Linked DNA regions of Homo sapiens: region 1 is linked to region 2. The links are contacts of gene promoters, found by promoter capture Hi-C in human tissues and cell types (Jung and others, 2019). All regions are on one chromosome and are shown on one strand. Each heading gives the region's core, a stretch centred on a gene start or on the middle of the fragment in contact. The rest is flanking DNA. Distances are from core to core; before and after follow the strand shown.

Region 1 (7,589 bases), core at 4,427-6,926, 1.2 Mb after region 2:
TCATGGCAGCAAACTGGCTGAAGAGTGGCATGGCTTAGGCCCCATTCTGTGCCCATGAGATCCTTCCCTCATCTCCCTGTGCTCAGCACTGGCTTCTCACCATGGGTAGCAAAAGGACCTCCAGGATGGCGCTAGAGGAAGCGCCCCTCAGACAACCTTCCCTCACATCCCCCATACAGGGAGCAACAGGCAGATGGGGCCATTGGCACACCTCAGGCTGAGCTCTGGCAGGGCCCTGCCAACCTGGGGAAACCAACAAACAAACCAGGCATGTGTGTGCCTGCCTGGCAGCTCCCTCTCACCTGGATTTGCAATCAAGGTTAATCAAACTTAGTATCTGGTTTCTCTTTATCTGATTATAGAATCTTACATGGCAAAGGAGAGCTCTTTTGAAATCCACTCCTCCCTCCCAATTTGACAGAGGTCAACCAGTTCTAGAAGGTTTCCGGGCTCACCCCAAGTCCTCAGTGAGGGAGACCTGTGAGACGTAGGCCATCGAGGATGGTGAACCAATTTTCATGGTCTTAGTTTCACAACATACCATGGCCAATGGTGGGTCATCTCTTAATTTAAAACTAGTGACACCTCCCAGTTGGGATCCCATTTCTACCTTTTGCCCAGCCCCCCATGGTCTATTCTCATCACTGCAGTCAAAGCGATCCCTAAAAAAAAAAAAAAAAAAAAAAAAATCTGACCAAGCTGCTCCCTGCAGCACTCCCTTCCACTCAGGCAGTCTGTGGCTGCCTACCTACCTGCCTGCCTGTGTAACCTGCTCCCCAGTTACCCGGCAGACCCCACCTGCTCTGACTCCCTGACCCGCACTGGCCTCCTTGCTGACCTTCCACTTCCAGGATAGGGCTCGGCCCTGGCCACACCCTGGCCTGGAACGCTCTCCCCCAGGTTATTTGCAGGCTCCCTCCCTCCACCCTTCAGGTCTGTGTTCAGGTCACCTGATCACCCTCTCCCCAAGCTTCCTGTCCCATGTTTCCCCCAGTACTTGTCACTGGCTGACATAATGCATCATTTATGGACTTAGTATGCTGATTGTTGATTGCTAGAATGTAAACTCCACTTTTTAATTCACTGATGTATCCCAAGTGCCTTGAACAGTGGCCTGGCAGAGTCAGTGCTTTATAAATATCTATACTGCATGATGGAATGACAGCACTGAGTGCCTCCCTACCCGGACCAGCAAGAGAAGAGAGACTTCCAAACAGGCATTATAAACACTTAAAAAAAAAAAAAAAAAAAAAAAGGAGAGAAGTAATTTTTTAGAACCAGAGGCCCGCCCATTTGGAACTTGCAGTGGCCAGATCGATCAATGAAATGGACCAATGCTTAGAAACCCAATCATTTAATTAGAAAAATCTGTGTACCTTTGTAATTCCCAAAACTCCAATGTTGGGACTGGATGAAGTAGAGCCATTCCCAGTACCAAATATGCCATCAAGAACACAGGAGAGGCCTTCCACGAAAATTCCCCTAAGATGTAAAGGAATGGAGGAAAGAAAATCATTCAATGGGATAATGCATTCACTCTGAAATAGCCTCTACACATCTACAATCCAAAAATGTGGTCCAGAGCCTGCAGCTTCCACATCTCCTGGGAGCTGGGAGGGCGATTAAAAATACAATCTCAGACCCCACCCCAGACCTGCTGAAGCAGAAAAGAATCTGCATTTTTTTTTTTTTTTTTTTTTTTTTTAGAGAGTGTCTCACTCCGTCACCTAGGCTGGAATGCAGTGACGCGATCTTGGCTCACTGCAACCTCCACCTCCTGGGTTCAAGAGATTCTCCTGCCTCCCGAGTAGCTGGGATTACAGGTTTGCACCACCATGCCTGGCTAATTTTTGTATTTTTAGTAGAGACGGGGTTTCACCATGTGGCCAGGCTGGTGTGGAATTCCTGACCTCAGGGTGATCCGCCTGCCTCAGCCTCCCAAAATGTTGGGATTACAGGCGTGAGCCACTGTGCCCGGCCAGAATCTGCATTTTAACAGAACCCCCAAAGCTCATTCCATTTTGAGAAGCACATCTCTAAATCACACGTTAGATTTGAGTGTTTTTAAATCACCGCAAATGAAAGCAAAGGATTTTAGCCAGAAAATAAAGCCATTTGTTGGGGTATAAGACAAACATGGGCCGTCTATGGAAATAAAACATTGATGTGATCCTTTACTCTTAAAATCCAGTTTCATCAGGAAGGAAATGTTTTATAATTTCATAAGTACTGACACTTTTAAACATACTGATATACAGGTATTTAATCATGTGCAGCAGCTCCATTAGAGAAAGATGGGGACATCAGGTACCAGAGCCAAGGCCCAGTCCATTAATCTCATCACACACAGTCCCTTCTGGGGTTACAGAGCTGGCTGGAGAACAGGAGGGGATCTGGGCTGTTTTCTTTTCTCTGCAGACTCCTCAGGGGCAATCATCTGACAACTTCTAAAAGCTAATCATAAACCCCATAGTTCATAAGCCCTAGATCCCACAGATTTCATTCATTTCTGCTATTCCTGTCCCTATTTATATAAACTGTAACTGTGCATAGATTACACAGTGCTTACCCTTGGGGACAATTGGAACGTATCTAATTGACAGACCTGGGGCATACTGCCTGCTGCTAAGGTTTCCACTACAGGGGAGAGCAAACGGTATCCTTGTGCTTTCTGTCTGTCCGATTGTGGCAGCCAAGATTGGGTGGGGAAACAGGGAAAAAAACAGGTAATTTTTGCAATGTAGAAATAGCACTGTATAGCCAAGTATGGTGGTGCACACCTGCAGTCTCAGCTACTCAAGGTGCTGAGGTGGGAGGATTGCTTGAGCCCAGGAGTTCAAGAGTGTGGTGCATTACGATTGTGCCTCTGAATAGCCACTGCACTGTAGCCTGGGCAACACGGTGAGACCCTGGGTCTTTTTAAATTAAAAACAAACAAACAAAAAAAAAACAAAAAAAACCTGTAAGCAGTGAAGAGCTTGTTTTGCTGGGAAGAAAAATTTCAGTTTGTGTAAAAAAAAAAAAAAAAAGAACAGTTGGAAAGGCAAGATAACAGAAAATCAAAGTAGTGCTCTCTATCTCTCTCTCTCTCTCTATATATATATATAGACAGAGCTACTTTGATTTTATCTATCTAATCTCCAAATGACACACACACACACACACACCCCAAAAAAAGCAAAGAACAAGTGCAGTGCTTGGCATGTGGTTTTTGAATTTAAGGCTTACAGTGGTTTCGCAGAGAGTGTGTTATTTGATGTCACTGCAATTAAGGAAGGGTAGGAATTCCGTTCCACGTCATGGACGAGGAAAATGAAAGTAAACAAAGGCAGTGGTGTATCAGACAGTCGAAAGTAAACAAAGGTGGTGATGCATCAAACAGTCGCTAGAGTCCTGCTGCTTGGCTGGGCTCCTGCTGAAACTCTTGGTTTTGTCTTCAAGGTAATGTAAACCTAAGAACAAAGTAACAAGGTGCTGGGACCAATCAGGAACTTGTCTTCTCAGGAACGTACCTGTTTATTGCGTGGATGGGGGGGGGTGGGGCACAGGACAGCCGTGCACAGGCGTAGTAGTCACCAATAGACTCGATGATGCTGGCGACCACGGCACTGAGCATGCCGATGACACCGGCCGCAGACACGGTGGGCAGTCCCCACTGAACTGTGGGAGGAAAACAACCATGAATGCTCCTAGAGAGGCAGGCGAAAGTGACCAGGACCAGTTACCCAAAGTCATTCTGAACGCTGCAAGACTCTACAAGATCCACTTGGATTCTGAAGCTCATGGAAACTGTTCATTTTAAAATCTTAAGCACCAGATGCCTGGGACAGTTGCTAAGTCAGATGAAGGCGGCCATAATGAGGACTGATGTGCACTGTGTCTTTAATTAAAAGAAAACATCGTAGCCGGATGCGGTGGCTCACGCCTGTAATCCCAGCACTTTGGGAGGCCGAGGCAGGCAGATCACGAGGTCAGGAGTTCGAGACCAGCCTGGCCAACAAGGTGAAACCCCATCTCTACTAAAAATACAAAAATTAGCCAGGCGTGGGGGCATGTGCCTGTAATTCCAACTACTCGGGAGGCTGAGGCAGGAGAATCACTTGAACCTAGGAGGCGGAGGTTGCAGTGAGCCAAGACTGCGCCACTGCACTCCAGCCTGGGTGATAGAGCGAGACTCCATCTCAAAAAAAAAAAAGAAGAAAAAGAAGAAGACATTGTTGGGCTGGAAGAGGCTGTAACTTCTCTTTCCTGCTTCCAAGCCACACTCAGTATCCACTAAATAACAACTGAAAGTGCCCTGCCACGTTGGGAAATTTGTATGAGGGATTTATAGCCCTGCTGTACAGAGCAGGGTACAAAGCAGCAGTGGCCTTCCCCAGGGGAGGACATCAAGTGAAAAGGCAGTGAGAAATCACCAGCTAAACTTAAATCCCAACAGTAAAGCATCCATAAGGTATGGACAGTCCTTCTCTACTATAATACCAGAACCTTATTTTTATATCATAAACCATGTTATGGGAAATTAAATAGTTTCATTTCAGAAAGCAAAGTGAGGCCCCACTGAAACTTCATTTTAAGTTCCGCATTTACTTAATCCCTCATTAGATACTTTTTTCTTCACAAGTATATTTATTTGGACTTGAAAGCCATAGGTCTTACTTAACAAAAATAGCATGGGTCTCTTTCGTGTGAGAATGAATAGACTCCTTTGATAAAGGAGTAGCCCTTCTTCCGTTGAAGCATTAGTTATAATACACTCACTGAGCAGAAAGCACAGTGGGAAAAGAACGATGGCTAAAACATGGTCTCTCATGCAGGAGCCAACAACGTAGCTGGGGACACAGGACACTCCAAAAGATCCAGGGAGAGGGAAATTGCTCAACTTCAAATGGAGGCAAGCTGAGCTGGGTCACAAGAAGCACCAGTGAGGTGGTCAGGAAAAGGCGAAGTCGGGCCCTGGCCAGGGAAGGATCTGAGGAGGAGGTGGGAACGGAGGTGCCCCTCCAGGGATCGGGAGGGTCTGGAGGGTGGGGTTTGAGGGTGTTCTGGTGAACGCAGAGCTCTCATGCAGGGCACAGGGCAGGAGGCAAGTTCTGGAAGTGTTCCAAAAGCCATCTAAGCCACCTAGAGGGGTTTGGCCTGTGTTGTAGGTAGCCTAGAGCAACCACTGGATTGGGAAGAGAAAGGATACAAAGTCAGACGTGCAGAATAAGCCTGGAGTGCGGTTAAGGGCAGAATTGCTCCTGCCTCAGGCTTGTTCATTCTGTGGGAGCAGCCAGGGGATGCAGAGGCGGCCCTTGGTCAGGGGTGCAAGGTACGCAGGTTGATGGATGGGGCTCGACACACCCTATGCCACCAGCAAGAGGCCTGCTCAACGTATCAGCTCCAGGTTAATTTGGAATGGATTTTCCTCATTCAGAGGCCTTCCTCACCAAGGAACATTTTGCTTTTTCTCAATTATCTTTTATACTGTTATCTTGTTATTGTTGTAGCATTCTGGTTTCAAGAATTCTGGTTGTAGCATTCAAGTTTAGTGTCTTGATTTTGAAGGGGGATTCTTATTTTGATCCTTTTTCCTTCAGATATATATCTATATATCTATATCTATATTTTTTTTTCTTAAAGACCTTGTTGGCTTCCAGCCTTCTCTCTTGAATCTGTTATTTCATATCTCCTTTTACCAAGAAACTTTCATTTAGTTTGTTACTTGACAGCAGGGTTTTTCAACCTCAGCACTGTTGACATTTTGCACCAGAAATCTGTATTATATTAACAATCAGTCCAGACCATGCCTAGTGTACTAAAGACTGAAAAGCACTGCTCAGGTATTCAAAAGCCCCTCTCTGGCTTGAGACAAAGCACTGGAGAGTACTACATATGTATACAGTAGTACGACTATATCCCTGGAGGTGGCTTTCTAGCTATGGAGCTCTGGTACCCCACCAGCCCTCGGCAGGCCAGGAGCCCTACGTGCTCGCTCACGGCCAGCACAACCTCAGGCGCTCTGTCTACTAAGTTTCGCCTTCTCGTGTGTGGCCCCATGGGTCCTAGTGAACTCCCTCTGGCCCCAGCACCTGTACAGCTGCCTCTCCTGGACAGCCCAGCTTGTGCCCCTACTGGCGCCCACCTTGGGAGTTGCCTGCACAAGCAGAAGACCACCTTGTATACGCTGTGGGGGCTTCTACCTACCTGCCACCCCCGCCTCGCCCTCACCCTGACTGCCTCACCAACTAATTGTAATTTCATTTTATCTCAGACTACAGGTATGTTTATGAACCATGCACATTCTTTCTTGGAAAAAGAATAGGTCTGTATAAATGCACACTTAGACCATACAATCTGATGAGAAAGTTATTTTAGAAAGATGAAACTTTTTTTTTTGAGACAGTCTTGCTCTGTCTCCCAGGCTGAAGTGCAGTGGCGCAATCTCGACTCACTGCAACCTCCGCCTCCCAGATCCAAGCGATTCTCCTGCCTCAGCCTCCCGAGTAGCTGGAATTACAGACACCCGTCATCAGGCCTGGCTCATTTTTGTATTTTTGTAGAGATGGGGTTTCACCATGTTGGCCAGGCTGGTCTTGAACTCCTGACCTCGGGTGATCCTCCTGCCTCGGCCTCCCCAAAGTGCTGGGGTTACAGGCATGTCCCGCCGCGCCCGGCCTGAAAGACGAAACTTTTTAAAGCTTTCCTAAGTGTATTGAGAACAAAAAGAACAGCCAACACTCATCATTCAACATGCTCAGAGCAGTCATCTTTAACCCAACCTTAAAATTCTTGGCTTCTCTCTTTTTCTCCTTGTCATTATAAAAAATGAAAATAAGATGGTTACACAGGGAAAGAAGTGGGCTGAACCTGACTAAGCTCAGGCTCCAATTCTAATAAAAACCCAGACGCCGGGACTAGAGTCTTCACAATGGAACCAAGTGTGTAACAACCACTGGGATCACCTACACGGGGCCAGCTGCGAGTCCAGGTGACACCCCAGCTAGGGAATGTATTCACACCCCCAACAGTTACACAACACTCAAATTAAGATGCAGCTTTTGGCCATTAGTGACTATCAACTTACCTCTACAGCTGTGGCCAAATTTAAAAGATTATGGCTGCCCATTAAGAGATTATATAAATTCCATCATGCTTGAGCAGGTTGCTTGCTAATCCCCAGGCTGTTCCCACTCACATCTTTCCACTTTGGCAGCTCTGGGACCAAGCAGCTCTATACTTGCCTATCTAAGCAGCTGCCCTCAAATCCTGGCCACCAGAGCTTAAACCTGGCAAGAGACCCCTTGTCCAGGATTTCATCCTAGCAGATCCAAAAGAGACAGCTCGCTAATGTGAGAAGGGAGCCGGTCAGTCTCTGTGTGTTGGTTTCTGCCCTCTGGGGACAGGGCCTCCCTTACTTGCTGTCTAATCCTCTCCTGACCAGAATGGCAAGGCCTTCAGGAGACAGTCTGGGACAAAGACGGCTGTTCTGCCAAATTCCCACCCCTCTCAGTTGGGCCCTCGTGGGCTCTTGACCCCTCTAGCCATCAGAATACTTACATGGGTATGGAACCTTAAACCACGGGGCTACCAGAAGCACGCCTTGC
Region 2 (7,156 bases), core at 2,612-5,111:
ATTCTGGATGGTCTCTGACCTGCTCTAGGGGATCTGGGTCTCCAGAGAGGTCTCAGCTACAAAAGTGACCCTCTCCTGACCCCACCTTGTGGGAGACCCCAGTGGTCTCAAGGTCTGTGAATAAAGGGACTTACAACCAAGATGCCTCCTGACAGGGAGACGGGGGCTTTACAGTCAGGCCCCAGCCTACATCCCTTGCCCCAGGGGACGGCACACAGGGTGTCCAAACCTACAAAGGGCAGCGGAGTGAAAGCACCAGGGCCGGCTTGGGGGGTAAGCCAGCCCCTTCTCAAGGGGCCAGTAGGCCACAGAGGCGGCCCAGGCAGGCAGGGTGGAGTAGCTGGCTGTGCTATCCGAGGTCGCTGTCCTAATCAGAGCAGGGCCGGGAGAGCCAGGACAGGAAGTATGGAGAGCAGGGAGCGTCTCTCCAGGGCCCTGCCTGTGGAGGACACCTTGGGGGTGGGAGCCAAGTGCAGACTTGAGGCAAAAGCCTGTCTCTGCCCTCTGCCTGCACCCCCACCCCAGGCCCTTCATGCCTCCACCCAGGCCCACCAGGGACGGAAGGGTGTGAAGGTGACAGTGGGGGAGGTGCCAGCTCACCCTCCCCTCCCTGCACCTACCTGCAGGAGGCTGTGCTCCGGGTCTCCCTGGGGGTTCAGCTGGTCCAGCAGGACTGGGGGCCACCCGCTGGCAAAGGCCTGAATGGCACCATCTATGGAGGGAGGGGTCCAGGGTGGACTTAGCTGGGAAACCCTAGCACAGGGCTCAGCACAGGGGACAAAGTGAGAGACCCCCTGCTGCAAAGACTGGCTCCTTGGACAGAAGGTGTGTGGTGAGGAATAACAAAATAATAAGCACAGCTGTGACAGAGTGACTCAACTGTACAGTCTTCCATTCTCCCCTCTAAAATGGCTCCCAGCCAGGCGGCTTGGGAGGGGGCAGTAAGCGCCGCCCCCACTCCCCCTCCACTCCCCCCCGGGCCCCTCACCCAAGCAGCGGTTCCTGGTAAAGAGCCCCCGGAAGGCTTCGCAGTCCTCACGCCGGTTCCCGCTGGCTCCGCAGTCGCACCAGGGCGCCACGCGCGCGCTCACGTTGTCCACGTAGTTAGGGGTGACGGCGGTGCCTGCGGGGACCCTGAGGGCGAAGTCATCGGCCCACCCGGGCGGAGATATCCCCTGGAGAACCCCCGCCCTCGCCCGGATCCCGGCCGCGCGTACCCACGAGGCCCGCGTAGGCGCGCAGGCAGCGGGCGCCCTGGTCCAGCAGGCAGCCGTCGGGGGCGCTGGGCGCTGGGGTGCACGAGACCTGAAAGGCCAGGAGGCGAGGCCTGCGCGGCGGGAGGGCGGTGAGCCGGAGAGAGGCCCCGTCCCCACCCTCGCCACGGCCCCGCCGCCGCCCGCGCGCACCTGCAGACCCGGCTGCGCTCGCAGAAGTTTAAGGGCTCAAGGCAGGAGGGCGGCGCGGGGCCGGGCCCCGAAAAGGCGCAGGAGGGCACGAAGGTCTGGCGCCGACGCTCGGCGCACGCGGGGCCCGCGCACGGGCAGAAGAGCAGTGCGTGGGTGAGCGCGGGCGGCCCGCGGGCGAAGAAGCGGCGCAGGGCCCGGCGGCAGCGGGCGCGGGGACAGCCCCCCTGCGCAGCCCGGCCCAGGCACTGCGCCACATACTCGGAGCGCAAACGCTGGCACCGCGCGTCCGCCGTGCAGGCTTCGGCCGCGTCCACACATCGGTTCCCTCCGACCGAGCTCGCCGACCCTGGGAAAGGCGCGGGGAGGCTGCAGGTCTCAGTGCGCCCCGCATGCACACTTCACCCAGCCCATCCACGCCCCTGGAAGGTGGGGGACACTGAAAACCCGAGAAAGCATAGAGTGTGGCCCAAAGGCGGGGCCGACTGGCACTGATCGGCTCTCCGTCGTGGGGATGGGCAGCGGCGGGCTCTGGAGGGCTCTGCAACACGTCAGGGATGGAGAGGGAGCATGGAGGCTGAGCCAGGCCTTCCCCAAAAGCTGAAGCCCCTCCTTCCCAAGCATCGCCACCATTTCTCCAGAACGGCCACACACGTCCAAAGACGGGTCCAGGGGCTCCTCCTACACTCAATGGCACTACCTGACGGGGGAACAATGAGGCTTTCTGGGGATCTGGCCAATGGAGACTTTAAAACCAGAGATGGCATAGAAGACAGTGGCTGCTCCTAGTCTCTTAATGACAGGCTGTGACGCCATACCTTTCCTCCTCTACCCCCTCCACCTCGCCGCTTATCCTCCACCATGGAGACCCTTTGGGTGGGTCTATTGATTTCTGTTTCTCCCTCCTTCCTGACCTCCTGCTCCTCCTCCTGCCCCCTGCATGGGTGTCTCCCCTCTCCAGCCCTTCCTGATGCTCCCTTGAGTCGAGGTCATCCTGCCCCATCTGCACTGGCTTCCTCCAGCCCCTCCACCCTTCATCAGCCAGGGGAGAGCGGATTCATGCAAGAGCTCTGGCCACTGAAGAACCCACTGAGTCCTGGCTGCCAGGGTGTGGATTCAGAGAAGTCCCTGACGACACACCGCCGGGCTTTGTCCTGAGCCACAGGACCCAAGGGTTCATCAGTGGTTTTAGTGACCAGGCCCCATGATAGGTGACACCCTGCTGGAGACAGAGAAGGTGCCTGGCACCCCAGTCACACACCAGGGGTTGGGTAGACAGAGGGTGAGCTCTGCCCACATGCCCACAGGCTGTGTCTAAATAGAGCCAGGATAACTGGAAGTTGGGACTTGGCAGCCCCTTCCCAGGATTTGAGTCACAAAAACCAGGCTAATCGAATCCCCCCCAGCCTCCACAAGTTCTCCAGTCTGGAGCATCTCATTCAGACTAGAAGCCTTTCTGGTGCCCAGCCTGAGTGGACGTGCACAGCCTGGCCCCTCATCCATCTCCCTGTGTGTTTGTGCACAGGGGCTACGGGGTGGTATCCCCCCCCCAGGGCTGGGAGCAGGGTGCCTCTCTGGCAATGGCTGTGTCTTTCAGGCTGTGGATTGGACCGCGTGGTGAGAGTGATTCCTGCTGTGACTTCAGCACCTGCCTCTGCAGGAAGGATGAACATAGCTCGAGGGCTTAGAATGGTCCCTGAGTGGAGGGGATAGATGGCAGCGGGGTGAGTCCTCCCTTCCTCCCCTCCCCAAAGGGCACACTTTGCTTTCCTCTCACAGCCTTGCCAGGCACATCCTCAGGTCTCAGCTGCACACACCAGCACCTGATGTTGCCTAAGGGTTTGAACCCACCTCTGCCTGTTGCTTACCTGTCACCCTTGCCCAGAACACCCTTACCCAGTCTCCACCCTCACAGCAGCTCATCTCAGCTGCAAGATCTCCTCCACCTTAAACCTTTACCAGATTCCACTTTCCACACTACACTCGGTAAAGTGACCCCTCCCTCCGCGACATCCATGCAGGGACGGAGCAGTCCAAGAAGGTGGAACAACAGATGAACAACACCGAAGATTCACCAAGGAATCTGTGTGATGGGTAGGAGGGCTGGGGCTGAGGGGAGGGTGAGAGAGTTGGGAGATGGCAGACAATAGGCAAAAGTTCCTGGGGCACGGGTGCCAAGGCTGGACTCGGGAGGGGGATGGCGGTGGTGGCTTGACGGGGCTGGGAGGTGAGGTGCTCAGCACATAGTGGGGTCAATTGCCAGGGGTCCCCAAGCCGTGCGCACAGGCCTCTCACTGGCAACCCTTCCTGTGGTTCAGCTTTTCCTGGAATATCTTGCCCTCCCACCTTGTCACTGAGGAGCAGGGACAGAGAGGCCAGGGTTCGGGGTCCAGGGGAAGAGAGGGGCGCTCACCCAGTAACAGCAGCAGCAGCAGCGCAGGCCCCAGGCAGCGGACCATGCTGGACCTTCAACAGAGAAGGATGGCTGGCAGAGCCCTAGTCTGATAGGCGCCCCCTTCCTAGTGCCTCTGGAGCAGGAGCACAGTGAAAACCCAGCTGTCTGCGCTGATACCCCTGGGAGGAGCCTTTGCTGCAGCAACTCCCCGCCCTCATTAAGTCTCCACCCCAGGCTGCACCGTCAGGTAAACCTGGGAGCCACGGGATTCGGCGCCTGAATGTGCCTAGACGGACCCCAACACACTAGCCCTGCCACGCACACCCAGCAACACACAGACAACCACCCAGGGAGACCTGGTCTCTCCCATGCTAAACTAGGAACGCTATGAAACAGCATTTTTCTTTTCCTTTTTTATATAATTCTATTTTAAACTTAAAAAAATTTTTTTGAATAGAGTTGGGGTCTCGCTCTATTGCGCAGGCTGGTCTTGAACTCCTGGGCTCAAACCATCCTCCCACCTCGGCCTCTCAAAGTGCTAGGATGACAGGTGTGAGCCACCATGCCTGGCCTATTTTAAACTTCTTATTGTTGACTAATTTTAGACTTGCAGAAAAGTTGGAAAATGTAAGCATTTTCCTTACACCCTTCACCCAGCTTCCCCTGATGGTCCATCTTACTTAATCATAGTCCAATCATTACAGCTAGGAAACTAACCTTGGTACAATCCTGTTAACGAAACTGTAGACTGTTTTGCATTTCTCATTTTTCCACTAATGTCCTTTTTCTGTTCCAAGATCCATTCTAGGATCCCACATCACAGTTGTCTCCTTATTCTCCTCAATCTGGGAGTTCCTTCATCTTTCCTTATCTTTACCCTTGACACTTTTGAAGAATCCTGGCCAGTTATTTTGCAGAATGTTTCTCTTGAGTTGTCTGATGTTTTATTCTGATCAGAATGAGACACAGCATTGTTTTGACTAACCAAAAAGTTATTCTATAAGTAAATATTGAGGTTAAAAATCTCATCCAACCTGGGCAACAGAGTAAGGCCCTGTCTCAAATAAAGTCTCAACACTAAGATTTAAAAAGTGACCAGAAAAGCCCCCACTATGATTTGTCTTGACTTTTTTTTAAAAAACAAACAAACAAACAAACAAACAAACAAAAACGATGTCTTGCTCTCTCTCTCCCTCAGGCTGGAGTGCAGTGGCACGATCTTGGCTCACTGCAACCTCCGCCTCCCAGGTTCAAGCGATTCTTCTGCCTCAGCCTCCCAGGTAGCTGGGATTACAGACGCCCGCCACCATGCCCGGCTAATTTTTGTATTTTTAGTAGAGACAAGGTTTCACCATGTTGGCCAGGCTGGTCTCGAACTTCTAACCTCAAGTGACCCGCCCACCTCTGCCTCCCAAAGTGCTGGAATTACAGACGTGAGCAACTGCGCTTGGCCTCATTAGCATCTTAAATCTCCACACAGGGGTGTGTTCCTTACTATTATAAGGAGCAAAGGATCAGTTTGAGGACAGGTAAAATAAAAATGCGCTTGCTGCCTAGAGGGAGAAGTCCCTGCTGAAGATAGCTTTGCTTGAATGAGCTCAATTGCAATGCCAGTGCTGAGGCTTGTTGACTGTACGGTCACCACAGTTGCTGCTGCGCGCCTAGAACATGGTCACTTTCTTGACTACCTATCCTGTCTCAGTACATCTGTCTGTGGTTTGTGGTGGTCCATTTCCTAATTTTTTTAATGAATCAGAAGACTGTGATGTGCTTTCCGCTGTGCTAACCATGGCCGCTGAAGCAAAATGTAAACCAAGATGCCCCTGCAGTGGTTGTGCTTCACTCTACGACATCTGTTACCGGAAAGGGGTCCAGATTCAGACCCCAGGAGAGGGTTCTTGGATCTCGTGCAAGAAAGAATTTGAGACGAGTCCATAAAGTGAAAGCACATTTATTAGGAAAGTAAAAGAATAAAAGAATGGCTACTCCATAGAGAGCGCAGCCCTGAGGGCTGCTGGTTGCCCATTTTTATGGTTGTTTCTGGATGATCTGCTAAACAGGGGTGGATTGTTCATGTCTCCCCTTTTTAGACCATATATGGTAACTTCCTGATACTGCCATGGCATCTGTAACCTGTCATGGCGCTGGTGGGAGTGTAGCAGTGGGGACGACCAGAGGTCACTCTCATCACCATCTTGGTTTGGGTGGGTTTTAGCCAGCTTCTATATTGCAAGCTGATTTTTTTGTTTGTTTTGTTTTTTGAGACGGAGTCTCGCTCCAGGCTGGAGTGCAGTGACACGATCTCAGCTCACTGCAACCTCCACCTCCTGGGTTCAAGCGATTCTCCTGCCTCAGCCTCCCAAGTAGCTGGGATTACAGGCACACACCACCATGCCTGGCTAGTTTTTGTATTTTTAGTAGAGATGAGGTTTCACCTTGTTGGCCAGGCTGGTCTCGAACTTCTGACCTCAGGTGATCCGCCCACCTCAGCCTCCCAAAGTGCTGGGATTACAGGCGTGAGCTACCGCGCCTGGCCTACTGCAAACTATTTTATCAGCAAGGTCTTTATGACCTGTATCTCCTATCTCATCCTGTGACGCAGAATGCTGTAACTGTCTGGAAACGCAGCCCAGTAGGTCTCAGCCTTATTTTGCTCAGCCCCTATTCAGGATGGAGTTGCTCTGGTTCACAGGCCTCTGACACATCCTCTTGTGTTTTGGCGTGTGGGAGGAAAGAGGGGTGAGGGAAGGAAACTCAAAACCAAGCTCTGACCACACAGGGCAGGTACACTCTCCCACCTGTCTGTGGGTGCCACAAGTCAAGGGAGGGGCAGAGAGAGAAGAAGGTGTGACAGATGGCCGCAGGCCACAGAATGTCAGAGGAAGCCCAGTTCCTCCCGGGGCAGCCCAAGTAGCTGGTAGTTGGGTGGCCAAACAGAGGGCGTCACAGCTGAGCTGGGCTCGCTCGCTACCCCCAGCTCAGCGTCCACTCTGCCCCTCAGTACCTCCTGCTCAGCCTCAGGGTCCATGCCTACCCTCCTGCTTCCCAGTCACTTCTGCGTGCCTCCTGCTTTTCTGCTGTTGGCCCCATGCCAGCTCCTTTCTGCTGAGCTTCTCTTCTCCAGTTCTGCAGCACAGCCAGGTGATCCTGGGCTCCAGACAGGCCTCTCCCCCAGTCTGGGGCCTCCCCTCTTAGAGCCCTCTTTCCTTCCCACGTGGCCTCCCCAGGGTTCGCCACTGAATGGAGAAGGGGTGGAGGGGGTGCTGGGCAGTCTTGGGGAATAGCCAAGAGGGCAGAGTTGGCCTCCCCAGGGTCCCTTGTAGCTGGAGTCCCGCGGGGTCTAGACACCCCCTCCTGA

Evidence for each region. The method cuts DNA at HindIII sites, captures the fragments that hold promoters and counts their contacts. A contact is called where the count stands out against the background at its distance.
Region 1: a fragment that was not itself captured here is called in contact with the fragment with the promoter of GFRA4 in region 2 in 1 of the 25 tissues and cell types used here (dorsolateral prefrontal cortex).

What each region holds. Positions count from the first base shown.
Region 1 is chr20:4,866,394-4,873,982 of GRCh38, forward strand. It overlaps SLC23A2 (solute carrier family 23 member 2), which reads right to left. Exons shown (of 17, transcript NM_005116.6): 11 at 7,543-7,589; 12 at 3,513-3,660; 13 at 1,377-1,482. Among named protein-coding and RNA genes, the nearest start is that of RASSF2, 47 kb to the left of the region's middle. The HindIII fragment of the contact is 3,701 bases long and covers 3,827-7,527 here.
Region 2 is chr20:3,659,538-3,666,693 of GRCh38, forward strand. GFRA4 (GDNF family receptor alpha 4) reads right to left here and starts at 3,862. Exons shown (of 6, transcript NM_022139.4): 1 at 3,817-3,862; 2 at 1,407-1,752; 3 at 1,218-1,327; 4 at 989-1,123; 5 at 621-712; 6 at 1-452. The coding sequence starts at 3,862. The coding sequence ends at 372. RefSeq lists silencers at 1,238-1,287, 1,378-1,487. The HindIII fragment of the contact is 25,120 bases long and covers 1-7,156 here.